2 separate regions of the Homo sapiens genome follow, and region 2 is linked to region 1. Evidence: promoter capture Hi-C in 16 types of primary human blood cells and fetal thymus (Javierre and others, 2016). All regions are on one chromosome and are shown on one strand. The core of a region is centred on a gene start or on the middle of the fragment in contact, and the rest is flanking DNA. Distances in the headings are between cores, read along the strand shown.

Region 1 (6,984 bases), core at 4,141-6,640:
ACTCCTGATCTCAAATGATCTACCTGCCTTGGCCTCCCAAAGTGCTGGGATTACAGGTGTGAGCCACCGTGCCCAGCCTTAATTTTTTAGGAGACAGGGTCTAGTTCTGTCACCCAGGCTGCAGCACAGTGGCATGATCATGGCTCACTGCAGCCTCAAACTCCTGGGCTCAAGTGATCCTCCCACTTCAACCCCTTTGGTAGCTAGGACTAAAGGTGTGCGCCACTATGCCCAGCTAACGCTTAAAAAAATGTTGGGGGAGTAGTGGGCCGGGTGCGGTGGCTCACACCTGTAATCCCAGCACTTTGGAAGGCTGAGACGGGTGGATCACTTGAGTCCAAGGGGTTCGAGGACAGTCTGGGCAACATGGTAAAACTCCATCTCTACAAAAAATACAAAAATTAGCTGGGCATGGTGGTGTGCACCTGTAGTCCCAGTTACTGGGGAGGCTGAGACAGGAGAATTGCTTGAGCCCGGGAGGTGGAGGTTGCAGTGAACCACAATGCCACCACTGCACTCCAGTCTGGGTAACAAAATGAGACCCTGAATGGAAAAAAAAATTTTTTTAAATAATTTTTTTTAAATAAAGACGGGGTCTTGCTCTGTTCCCCAGGCTGGTCTTGAACTCCTAGGCTCAAGCAATCCTCCTGCCTAAGCCTCCCAAAGTGCTGGGGTTACAGGTACGAGCCACTGTGCCTGGCCTGTACTTGCAGTTCTCTTTTTTTTGAGATGGAGTTTCACTTTTGTTGCCCAGGCTGGAGTGCAATGGCGCATCTTGGCTCACTGCAACCTCCGACCCCCAGGTTCAAGTGATTCTCTTGCCTCAGCCTGCTGAATAGCTGGTATTACAGGCACCTGCCACCACGCCCAGCTATTTTTTGTATTTTTAATAGAGATGGAGTTTCCCCATGTTGGCCAGGCTGGTCACAAACTCCTGACCTCAGGTGATGCACCCGCGTCGGCCTCCCAAAGTGCTGGGATTACAGGCGTGAGGCACTGCACCTGGCCTGAACTTGCAGTTTTCTAAATGAGCTGTGCATAGGCTCATCTCCATGCCTTTGCTCCCGTTGTTCCCTCCGCTGAGACACCTTTTCCTAAGTTGGCCAGCAGCCTACAACCTACGCATTTTTAAAAAATTGAGATCCTCTAAGAAGCTTTTCCTGAACACCCCTCTCCTGCCTACAAATAACTTTATATACCCACTATCCTGTATACGTATTTCTATCACAAAACCATGACACATTATTTGTTCACATGCCTTCCTCCCAATACCTTGTGTACATCTGAGGCAGGTAGCGATGAGGTATTAGCTGATGCCTGGCATCCAATAGGTGCTGTACACAATGTACCAATCAGGATAAGCTAAGTTACACTTCAGTTAACAAAACCCCCAGATATCAGTAGCACAATTCCTGTGCTACAGTGCGGGTATCAGTCACCTTCCCAAAACAGGCCCAGTCCTTTTGCAGGGGGTGGGGGGTAATGGGAAATATAAGAACATACCCTAGAGAAAGCAACATGTCTAGAAGTCTCTCCCACATCACAGTCAGATTGGACAGATTAAGGGCCCTGCGCCATGCATCCTCATTCCAGGACCTACACTAATGAACAGTTCCATAGGAAGCACTGCTGGTCACTGCACAGAGGGAAAAAGAGGTCCTCGCAGGTTTCTCCAGCACTGAAATGCTCTCACGTAGAATTAACGCAAGCCACTACCACTCACAGCTCATTGGCCAGAACTAATGACATGGCTCCATCCAACCACAAGGGGGTGGTGGCACACAGATCACTTCAATTAAACTAAGCCACTTGGAGGAGAGACTTAAGGTGCAGGCTCTCCAATTGAAGGTTCAAAAATACCCCAAATTAGAAGCATGAGAATGAGAAAATATATCAAATATAAGAAATATGACTAGAAGAGGGTAACTACTGGCACATGAAACTGAAACCAGAGAAAAAGCCAAATAGACTTTTGAGAGTAGTACTATGCTAACAAAGTAACAGTCATATAAACCCTGCCAGCCACAAGGGGACCAATTTACCATGTACCCGAAAGGTGGGAAACTGGAAATACTTGATAAATAACACTAGTGACAACCACTGTGCAATAAATGAAAGTGATGCTTAACCCACAGGCTTCTAGGGTAGTGACATTTTAAGAACACTCAGGAAGCAAAACTGGCTTAACAGAAGACACTGTACTTCATTGTTGCGCTTTAGCAAAAGTCAGTCAAGTTAATAAAATGATGCACACGCCCAGATGGGAGTGTAAATAAATATATTCTGAAGGGCAAAGGAGTGAATACAATTGTACGTGGGACAGGAAGTACAAGAGTGATGGATACAAGAAAAAAAAACCCCTCCAACTTTTGAGTAAAGGCCAAGTTGCTTAGATCTGGGAGAGCAGATATAATCATCTGTGTGGTGTGGACACTTTACCAACTGACTTTGAGAACAATCTGAATTAAGCAGCCTTTTTGGTGGGTAAGTAAAACACGCTGAAGAGTACAAAAGAAAAAGCCCACAGCCTCCTGGACTGATAGTCCTCTTTGCCCCAGAGACTCAAGGAGAGGGGCTGGAAGTGGTGATCATTTTTCTTCTTCTTTACAGATCTAGTCATGACAGGCCTGCAATAATCGTGGCCTAGGCTCACATAACTGGTTGATACATGGCAGACCCAACTGCCTCTGCCCCCAAATTCAGAAGTCTACTGATACTATGTTTTAAACAAAGTGATTTAAGCACTTTCCTGCTCCAAAGTATTGAGATGTTAAAATTAAACCTCAGGTCTAGAAATTAAGACCCTCCCTACCACGAATTTCAAGAGCAGAAGTCAACATGACACACAGTAGAAATATATATTCCACTTTATTAGTTAGAAAAAATCATTTAAGCCACATGGTGGCCACAATGTCCATAACTTGAGCAGGCTTTGGCATCCCACCACCCCCTTCAGACCAATACACACTATGTTGGAGGAACGACTTTAAAATGTAAAATGAGAAATGGGCACTGAACACTCCATCCTCACTCCCAACAGCCCACCCACACAACCTCTTCAACTGCTATCCAAACATGGAGGAGCTCTTGTGGAAGAGAGGCTCAACACCAAATAATTGAGCATAAGACATTCAAGACTAAAGGAACCCCAGACAGATGTTTAGGAAGTAGGGTTGAAAATATCACCATCTCCCAACAGCTGAAGTTGGGACATCTAAGAGATGTCAGAGCCATACTGCTGAGGAAAGCACAGCATACACCAGACCCCGGGGTAAGGGCGAGATCAACCTATCTCATAGCCATAAGCAATCCACTCACACCTGTGCATTAAACAGGCTTTTTCTTTTCTTTTTTTTTTGAGATGGAGTCTTGCACTGTGGCCCAGGCTGGGTACAGCAGTGCGATCTCGGCTCACTGCAACCTCCGTCCCCGGGTTCAAGCAATTCTCCCGCCTCAGCCTCCCAAGGAGCTGGGATTACAGGCCTCTGCCACCACACCCAGCTAACTTTTGTATTTTTAGTAGAGATGGGGTTTCGCCATGTTGGCGAGGCTGGTCTCGAACTCCTGACCTCAGGTGATCCACCCACCTCAGCCTCCCAAAGTGCTAGGATTACAGGCATGAGCCACCGCAACCGGCCTAAACAGGCCTTGCCCAGGCAATGAGCATCCAGTTAGACAGGTTCTTCAAGGCCTAGTAATAGTTCTCTGGTTACAACGGTGCTCAGCTTGTCTGCTAGGAATGGGACTCCCATCTGGACATGTCTAGGTCAGTGTTCCAAAATATGGCCAGTATGGAAGGAGGTCTTATCACATGCTTCTGGATGGATGGTCTGGAAGGCCCTTGGTGGGCTCTGTGTTGGCTAGTTGGCTTCTGGTGGTCCAGGAGGTCCCAGGCGATGGGCTCTCTAGTAAGCCCTCTAGGGACTCCATCACTCTAACGAAGATGGAGAGTAGGGTCAGTACCACACCTAACAGGTAGAGGTTCAACACATGCTTCATGGCTGAAAGGACCCTACTCCTCTGCAGAGAAACAGAGCTGCCTTCTCCTTCTGAAAGGCCTCTGGACCCTGAGAAAAAAGAGGAAAGGATGAATCTATAGCCTTTTGGGGATATGCATGCATCCAGCCCTGACTCTTCTGTCCTCTCACAGGGCTGAAGGAGAGGCTTAGCCAGTGAGGGACACAGGGACCAGGGAGTTGCACAGCAACTCTCCAAGAATATTTTACATTGCAAACTTCATGGCTGCGGAGCCAGTGTTGCTTCTTGGACTAATTCAAGAACACTTCTTAAAACTTTTACTTTCTTAGGCCAGGCGCGGTGGCTCATACCTGTAATCCCAGCGCTCTGGGAGGCCGAGGCGGGTGGATCACCTGAGGTCAGGAATTCGAGACCAGCCTGACCAACATGGTGAAACCCTGTCTCTACTACAAATACAAAAATTAGCCGGGCATAGTGGCACATGCCTGTAATCCCAGCTACTCGGGAGGCTGAGGCAGAATTGCTTGAACCCGGGAGGCAGAGGTTGCAGTGAGCCAAGATCGCGCCATTGCACTCCAGCCTCGGCAACAAAAGCAAAACTCCGTCTCAAAAACAAACAAACAAACATTTACTTTATTGAAAATTTTGTTCCTGCAAGGCACAATACACAACCCCTGTGCTACAGTGCAGGCATCAGTCACCTTCCTGAAATAGGCCCAGTCCTTTTGCAGGGGGGTGGTGGGTAATGGGAAATATAAGAACATGCCCTGGAGAAAGGAACCTGCCTAGAAGTCTCTCCCACATCACAGATTGGAGTTAACTACAAACTTTTTGCAAGTCCAAATAACTCTATGAGGGTCAAATCTATCAAGTTCATTTATTTAACAAACATACCATGAATATCTGCAATGTGTTAGGTACCCTGGAAGATACTAGGGCCACATTGCAAACCTTATAGACAAAGGGTAGTTAACACGCAACACGCTAAGTGTTGGGACAGCAAGGAGATCGTGAAGGTGCTCTGGGAGGGCATGGCAGGGATGCCTAACTCAGCACCTGTGGGCGTGGGATGGGCCACGTGGATCCTAGTTAGGACCACCTTAGGACAAAACAGGGCTGACGGCTGAATGGGGACCCCAGATGGGGCGTGGGCGATCAGAGAGGATCCCGGCGGCGCACCCCCAGCCCTGGAACGCGAGGCTGCTAGCGCGGCGAGCACTCTAGCGATGGGGGTGGGGAGCCGGGGAAGCCCACAGGGCCGCTCACCTCCGGGGGAACAGCCGGGAGTGGATCGCCGGCTGTAGGAGCAGGTCGTGCAGGAGTCCGGAGGAAAGTCGGTTACTAAGCACCAGCGCAGAAGCTTCCCGCCACAAAACTCACCGGAGACAAAAGCGCCGTCAGCCGCAGAGCGCAGAGCAACGCCGCCCAGCCTCCGCCCCTTATAGCCGCGAGCACGCCCCAGGAGGGTACGCGCACGCGCACTGGAGGCCGCACGCACGCCCGGGACGCACACGACGTGGCGCACGTCCGCGGCCCCACCCCGCGGGCAACGGGGTTTGGGGATTGTCCCGGGTGCTCTCCCGCGGAGCTGTTTCCAAAAGTACACGTCGTGCGGTTTTGAGTCATTGTGTTCTGGAGTGAGACGAGGCGTGTGTATTAATCTCGACTGCCATCTCTGCTGTAGAAAACATTTGAAGGAGTCAGAGAGCACATATCCCTTCTCCCCAGTAGGTGAAAAACACCGATGGCCTTCGTGTCCGTGAAGCCCCGCCGTGAAGGGTGGGTTCTTCCCCAGAGATTTCGGGTGCACTAAATTGTCAGAGGGCACCAGACCCCTACCCCACTCGTTATTTTCTTCATTTCAAGGACTGAAGAGCTGGTTTTGTTTCACTTCATAGCTGTACCAAGATTCCAAATCCCGAGTTTCAGTTGCCATCGGTATCTCTGGAATGGTGAGGCCCTTGTGCAACATATTAAGCTCTGCAAGCTCTGCTTTCTATGAGAGTTTGTCGTGTCGCTTCAGAAAACGTGAAATACTCCTGGCCCTGGTGTGGGATCCTAACTGCATATGGGCAAGTCACTTGGTATTTAAATGGGCCTCGGTTTTCTCATCTGTAATGAAGACATTGGCCACTAGATGATTTTTCTTCTTCTTCTTCTTTTTTTTTTTTAAATAGAGACAGTCTCGCTATGTTGCCCAGGCTGGTCTCGAACTCCTGATCTCAAGCCATCCTCCCACCTCTGCCTCCCAAAGTGCTGGGGCTACAGGCGTGAGCCACCGCGCCCGGCCGCTAGATGATTTTTAAGGGTGCTTTCGGCTTGAACTAAAGAGCCAGGAGGTCACAGACCAGCCTTATGTCCAGATTTGGGGGGCTAGGCTGCCTTACTAATCACCCCCGAACCCACCCAGCCAAGACTGTGCGGTCTGTCTTGAGAGCACGCAACGGGGGATCTCAGAAAGTAGAGTCCCGGAGAGACACTGGGAATGGGGAGGACCCCCGGGAAGGGGTGTACACGCCGTGGAAGGGAAGGCCGCTGGTGGCTTTAGAACTGGCGGTTCCGTGTACCCGGGTCAAGTGCCCGTGCCGGATGGGAAAGAACCCTGTGACTTTCCACATCTCAGCGAGCTCGGCGGGCTCTGCTTAAGAAGGGCTCTAAGACGGGAAGGGAGGAGCCATCCCCACTGCGACCTTTCCCCTCCTTTCCTGGCTGGCTGGCTGTGGTCTGTCGGGAATGAGGGGGTGGGGAAGCCGGGAAAGCAGAAGGTTGGGGCTGGAGGTCTGCTGGCAGGCAGGCAGACATTTGGAGCCAACTTTCCTGCTCAGCCCGCAGAACTTTTGGTCCTTCGCTATACCAGAGTTTCGTCTGTTTTTTTGCTTGACTGTGTGACCCTTCTCTCACACTGTTATTAAATAGGTCTCAAGCTGCGAAATCACTGCCAGATCCAAACGCCACTACTTTGCCAGGTGAAGGCCTTGGGCGAACCCTTTAACCTTCTTGTAGTTC
Region 2 (6,627 bases), core at 1,647-4,146, 340 kb before region 1:
TTTATCTGCTGTGCTTCAGTCAAACCCTCAGGAAAAAAGTACTTAGGTGACCACTTGGATGGCCACCTCCCTCCAGTCCAAGTCCTGGGAATTACCTTGGAGCTGCTGGATCTGCTTGGTGAACACCTCTGCCTGCTGGGCGCTGGCTAGCCGTTCATCCTCCAGGAGCCCTGCAGGGAGAGGGGCACCAGTGTCAAGCTCGGATCCAGGGGAGTGCAGAGCCTCTGGGCCCGGGCACTGGGCCCTGGCCCAGGCACTCACCCTGTAGCTCCAAGGAGTCATCCTCATGCTGCCCTGCCAGTTCCCGGGTCTCCTCCAGTTCTGCCACCAGCTGCAGCACCTGAGCCCGCAGCTCCTCCAGCTCTGTCTCCGTGAGGCTCAGTCCCCGGTGCTTGTTGACTGACAGAGAGCCAACACTGCCACCTTTCTGCACTTGTTCTTCTTCTTCTTCCACCTCTTCTTCCTCCTCTTCCTCTTCCTCTTCCTCCTCATAGAGAGCTGGGAGTAACACCTCCCCTAGGAGACACAGCCATCCCACCAAGGAGTCAGCATCAACTTCCTTTCTGCCGTCCTTCCAGGGCCCTCAAACTCACTATGCCAGGGCAGAGATGACATACTAGTGCCACCTGGTGTCCCCCAAGGAGCCCCGGGGCAAGACCTGTACTCAAGATGAGTCCTCAGGTGTGAGAGTCAAGTTGAGAAGCAGCCCCTCCACCTCCCAGGCCCTTCCTGGACCAATGTTGCACTTGGTAGCCTCCTATCACTGCCTGTGGGCAGGCTGGTGCCCGCTCAGCCATGAGACACTTGCACAGGATTACCTGCTTCTTCTAGGCTGGCCTCTGAGTAGCAGGACAAGTAGTCAAGAAAGGAGACAGTGAGCGGATCTTTCGGTCAAATGGGGTAACAGTTACAGTTTGGAGATTTCTTGAAAGTTAAAAAACAAAACAAAACTGACCAGGCATGCTGGCTCATGCCTGTAATCCTAGCACTTTGGGAGGCTGAGGTGGGTGGATTACTTGAGGCCAGGAGTTCCAAACCAGCCCGGTCAACATGGTGAAACCCCTTCTCTACTAAAAATACAAAAAAATTAGCTGGGCGTGGTAGTACACGCCTGTAATCCCAGCTACTTGGGAGGCTAAGGCAGGAGAATCGCTTGAACCTGGGAACTGGAGGTTGCAGTGAGGCGAGATCGAGCCACTGGCACTCCAGCCTGGGCAACAGAGTGAGTCTCCGTCTCAAACAAACAAACAAACAAAAACAACCAAACAAAAACTATCCAGGTGGCTTGTGAAAAATCAGCCTTTCCATAATAAGAAAACATTGCCCGTCAGCAGGTAGAGAAAGAAAATATCTGATTGTAGAGGTTTCATTGGACAAACTCGGGCGCCCTTTCAAATGTATATTATTAAATACCTGTTTGAAATTTTCTACAAGGTCCACCTTGTTTTTCCCTGCTGCATGTCACAAGGTCTCCTCTCCCCTAGCTGAGCCATATGAGGCCCCTCCTACTCTGCTGACCACAAAGTAGATTTCAGGGGAAGTTTTAGGCTGTACTTGTGTGTAAAAGAAAGCCTACCATTTTAATGCATTAAAAAAACTGGGGTTTGGTGCTGGCCCCCAGCCTCTGGTTGTGAGCACCCGCTCCTTTACTGCAACGCAGTCCCTATAAATAGCAAAATGTTGTCTGGATGGTGATTGTTTGCTTTGTTTTAAAATTCTGAATCTCTGGTCTTACTTTATCTAATATCAGCAGCCTTAGGTTCAACTGGGACCCTTCGTGCCATCTGTCCCCCTTAGGGGGAGCAGGTTTGCCCATACTGAATGTGCAACGTGCAACACTTCACAGGAAGTACTGGCAAATGGACCAGCGTCCTTCCAGGGGCCTGGTGTTGGCAGCAACTGCCAAGTCACATGGGTGTGGTGGGGATACACGTGTGTTGGGAGGATGGCCTCACGCGCCCCCTCCTAGGCTCTCTCTTTCAGGCAATAAGGTATCCTAAAGAACCAAAGCCACAGGCTTCCATTCGAAGTTAATGTTGGTGGCCCCAGAAAGACAATTCACATGCCCAGTTCCTTGCTTTTTAAAATAAGAGACAGCTTGGGATCTGGGTCGGCAGGCAGTGAGGACAAACCCCCTGCTGAAAGGCTGCTTCAAAGCTCTGTCCAACAAGGCCTCTTTCTCTGTCTGGCAGCTCCCTCGGGACACATAACCTGGTTAGCTGGGGGGTGATTGGGGTCCCGAAGGGATGCATCCTGAACTTCTGTCAAAGCCTGAGCCCTGGGAAGGGCTGGAGCTCTGAGCTGCAGGAAGAGGGGCTAAGATGAACTGAGGGAAGGGCTGTGTCCTGGCTCAGAGGCCTGGGGGTCAGAGGGAGGAAAGAAGGGAATTAAGGGAGGAGGGGAGGGGAAAGAAAGAAGCCTTTTGGGAAAACTCACCCTCCATAGCTTGCATCCCCCGTCGTTCCAGGGACCCCCAGCGTTGGCCCTTCTTCCTCTCACAGCCCTCGGAAGCCTCATAGGAGCCTAGAGTGGTCACTGTGGGTCCTGAGAGCAGGGAGAAAGGAGGGGCTGGGGGGTGGGGGGCTGGCTGCGGGCTGGGGTGCAGAGGAAAGAAGGGGACATGTCTTCCAGCTCCTCGAGGCTCTGGGATCTGTAATCCCAGTGGAGGTGCCTGACTCACTCTGGCGGCTCTGCGACTCCTCTCTCTCGGCCACCTCTCAGCCCTGCCTCCCAGCCTCCTCAGAACCCGCTGTTCCAGGACCCTCTTGCTTGCACAGAAAGAAAGAGGGGGTGTGCGTATTTAGTCCGGGGGGACAGGGAGGAGAGGGCCAAGACTGAAAGAGGGCGGGAGCCAGTGAAGAAGAGGCTGAAAGGCTGAGGTGGCCTACAGATGGAGGGAGGGAGGAGTGGGGGGCGTGCGGGAAGGGGTAGGGCTGCGACCGCTCCCCTCCCCTCTCCTCCCATTCTCTCGCTGGACCTTGCCCACCCCACCCTCGCCCCGCGCTCAGGAGTCTCCGGGGCTGCAGGAGGTGTAGGGTCTGCAGTCCCGAAGGCTGGAAGCACCGTCGGACTGAAGTGGAGAGACGCGCTGGGGAGGGACCACCAGGCAGGATGCGGCCGGTGCGCGGAAGCCTCAGTCCCAGGCCGGAAGGATGGAGACCGGGCCCCGGTGGAGGCCAGGATGGAGGGAGGAAGACTTTGGGCGGAGAAAGGGGAGCCGCGGAGGCCGGGAGCACCTGGGGGTCTGGAAGGAGGAGGGATGGAGGAGAGAAAGGAGGGGCGGTAGACAGGTGACGGAGGGGCGGCTCTGACCTGGGCCCGGGCAGCTCCAGCCCGCGGCTCCCGCGCCGGCTCCGGCGCCCGCCTCCATGACCGCTCCCGCCGCCGCCTTCCGCCTCCCTGAGCAGAAGCCGCAGCCGCGAGCCCGGGGACCCGAGCCGGGTGCGCAGGGAGGGAGGGAGGGCGGACGAGGGGGCGGGGCCTGGCCGGGCCTCCTGACACCGCCCCCCGCCGCTCGCCGCCGCCCGGAAGCCCTCCCAGCACTCGGGAGCTCCGAGCCCGTGCAGGGGGCGGCGCGGGAGGGTGAGCGCGACCCCGGATACGCCCCAAGGCTCTCCCCTAGAGAGCGCGGGGAGCCGCGGGGCCCGGACAGCGTCAGGAGCTCCTAGGCTTATGGCTGCCCCAAGAGGGAGGAGCGAGATCCCCTGGTTCTGGCGGCGGGTCCCCCCGGGGTCTGCTGTGCCCAGGGACCCTTCTGCACCAGGTGTCAGGGCCCGGTCATGCTCAGCAATGGGGACGGCAAAGGACGAGGTGGGACTGTTTCCTCCAAAAGCGCAGACACGCGCGCCCCTCCTTCCCTCCCTCCCCCGCCCGGCCGGCGCCCCCACCTAGCAGTCCGCGCTGACTCCGGCCCCAGGCCCTGCCCACCCCTGCCCGGTGGCCCCTCGGCAGCCTGGGGGCCGGAGGAGGGAAGTCGAGGCCCGGATGGGCGAACGGCAGGGCCCTGACCTCTCCGCTTTCCGCGACCCCCCACCGAGCCAGGGCCAAGGACCCTCTTAGGAGGAGCCCTCCGGTGGCCCCATCAAGCCTCAGGGCCGGAAGACCCCCTCTCCTCCGCCCTGTCTTCCCTTCCGGTCCCACACCCGGTGGGCTGCGAGCCACGCCCCCACAGTAGCCCGCTCAGAGTGGGCACGACTGATGTTCACTCTCGTGGAAGGGAGATTTGGAAGCCCAGGGGGCTTATTTCACGTCTTCAACCATTCGTTTATTCAGGCTATGACTACTGGGTGCCGGCTCTTGAAGAGGCAGTTCTCACATCTCGGCAGGTCTCGGCAAGGATAGAAGTGGGCACAGTTGGGAACAGGGGCTCCCCAGCACATCCAGGAAATGGCTGGAAGATTCCTAAGCCAGGGACACACGCGGATCCCCTCTCTGGCACATCCACTCACAGGTCGAGGGCTAGTATTGTCTGCGTTCCCCCCGCTGCAGGAAAGGGATCCGGATCCAGACCGCAACAGAGGGTTCTTGAATCTCACGCAAGAAAGAATTCAGGGAGGTCCATAGGATAAACTAAAAGCAAGTTTATTAGGAAAGTAAAGGAATAAAGAATGGCTACTCCATAGACAGAGCAGCCCCAAGGGCTGCTTTTTTTGGTTATTTCTTGATGATATGCTAAACAAGGGGTGGTTTATTCCTGACACCCCCTTTCAGACAATGTAGGGTAACTTTCTGATGTTGCCATGGCATTTGTAAACTGTCATGGCACTGGTGGGAGTGTAACAGTGTGAGGATTACTAGAGGTCACTCTCACTGCCATCTTGGTTTTAGTGGGTTTTGGCCGGCTTCTTTACTGCAAGGTGTTTTATCAGCAAGGTCTTTATGACCTGTGTCTTGTGCCAACCTCCTATCTCATCCTGTGACTTAGAATTCCTTAAACGTCTGGGAATGCAGCCCAGTAGGTCTCAGCCTCATTTTACCCAGCTTCTATTCAAGATGGAGTTGCTCTGGCTCAAATGTCTCTGACATCCCACAGGCTCCCACGTCCACAAGCCATCCCTGTTCCACGGGAAGGAAGCCCTTCTTTGCCTGGACTTCCCCCTCCTTTTCAGCTGGGGGTCACCTCCAGGTGGCCTTCTCTGACTGGCACCCCATCCCTGCCCCACTAGGCGCTTTTGTGGTGCTCGCCCCTATTTGTCTGTAACAGCACCAGGCCCTCCGGGTTGTCCGGGCTCTGCCCAGTTTCCTGAAGGTTAGGGGGATCTTAGTTATCTTTGTATTTCCAGCATCTGACAGAGTTTCTGACACAGGATAAATGAGTTAAAGGTCAATCTCCCAGCTACCCAGTTAATGCCCTGTCTTATCATTTAACATGATTTCATATTTGTGGTGTTAAATGTTGCCTATTAATGATGATGTTGCCCATAAGTCTCTCTCCCTCCCCCAACTCCTTGCTCCTTTTTTCTTCCTCTGCCTCTCTCATTATCTCAGCAGAGAGATGATGAGCAGAGATCAAGAATGTTTTCTTTGCTCCCAGATGACAAGATTCTACTCCAGATCCTGTGGCCAAGGTGACACAGTTGTGGGGAAAGTTGAACAAGCCCACCCAGACCCCTTCTGCAGAGGGTTTACTGCAGACGCCAAGCCTGTCCAGATTTGGGGAGCAGAGCATTTGTCAGGGGTGGTAGAAAGGGGCTGCACTGGGGGCTTGAGGGATGCAGTGCTCTGGGAACTGGCAAAGACTAGTTCTGGAAGCTTACTGGCTGTTCTTTCTGCCCAGCGCAGCTCCTCCTGGTTCTGCCTCCGCCAGCAGGGCCACGTTAGCGGTTGGCCTTGACTGCTGACCTCTTGGTGAATGTAGGGAGGCACAGCAGGGAAATTGTCGATGGTGACATCCAGGGTTCAAGCTCTCCTCAGGGAGCTCTGATCCTGAGTATTAGGACTAATCTCTCCCTGGCTCCTGGCATGCAGGTCACCTTTCACCCTTGATTTGGGAGAACATTTAAGAGAGACCTGAACCAGTCTATTTTCAGGAGCCAAACTTGGTCAAACCCTGGCCAGACCAGTACTGGGTTGAGGGCGGAGGGAGGCAGTTAAAAGGCGGGAGAAAAGAGCTTAAGAGATATGAGGGAGGTGGGCTGTGGTCCAGAAATGCATCTCTGAGGGGCCAGGAGTGGTGGGCATGTCAGCCAGGTGATCAACCTAGGGGGATGATCTGAATTAATCCCTGTAATCCCTGGACTCAGGGCTCAGCCTCCCTCCTAATCCCATCCCAGGAGATCATCCTCTTTGAGGACTGATGTAGCCATTTATCCCCCTTTACCCTTATTTCTAAATGCCTAGATCCTTTCATTAAAAAGAAAAAAAATATGAGTATTTGAAACATGCAGAAAAGTATGGTACAGAGAATAACGTAACAAATAACCATGCACACAGAACTGAAATCCTACAACCAGTCAGATCTTGCCACATTTGATTCAAGGTAGCCCTCTATTTATGGTTTTCCAGTTTTACCTGTATGTATGTTTTACCTTTTATGAATGTGTCTACCAACAATACATAATTGCGACTTGTGTGTTTTAGAAATTTATGTAAATAGTGTTATATTGTACACATTTTTCTGCAAACTTT

What was found. Contacts are between HindIII fragments. The CHiCAGO score rates a contact against its expected background, and 5 or more counts as called.
Region 2: the fragment with the promoter of CCDC136 here is called in contact with the fragment with the promoter of HILPDA in region 1 in 1 of 17 cell types (fetal thymus); the score reaches 5.6 in fetal thymus.

What each region holds. Positions count from the first base shown.
Region 1 is chr7:128,454,284-128,461,267 of GRCh38, reverse strand. It overlaps HILPDA (hypoxia inducible lipid droplet associated), which reads right to left and starts at 5,390. Exons shown (of 2, transcript NM_013332.4): 1 at 5,245-5,390; 2 at 2,850-4,067. The coding sequence starts at 3,999. The coding sequence ends at 3,808. It also overlaps the pseudogene EFCAB3P1. RefSeq lists enhancers at 1,599-1,893, 5,578-5,747, 6,656-6,984 and a silencer at 5,338-5,477. The HindIII fragment of the contact is 2,271 bases long and covers 5,341-6,984 here.
Region 2 is chr7:128,788,237-128,794,863 of GRCh38, reverse strand. CCDC136 (coiled-coil domain containing 136) reads right to left here and starts at 2,896. Exons shown (of 18, transcript NM_022742.5): 1 at 2,437-2,896; 2 at 262-516; 3 at 96-170. The coding sequence starts at 2,452. RefSeq lists silencers at 3,513-3,781, 3,320-3,789. The HindIII fragment of the contact is 10,437 bases long and covers 1-5,753 here.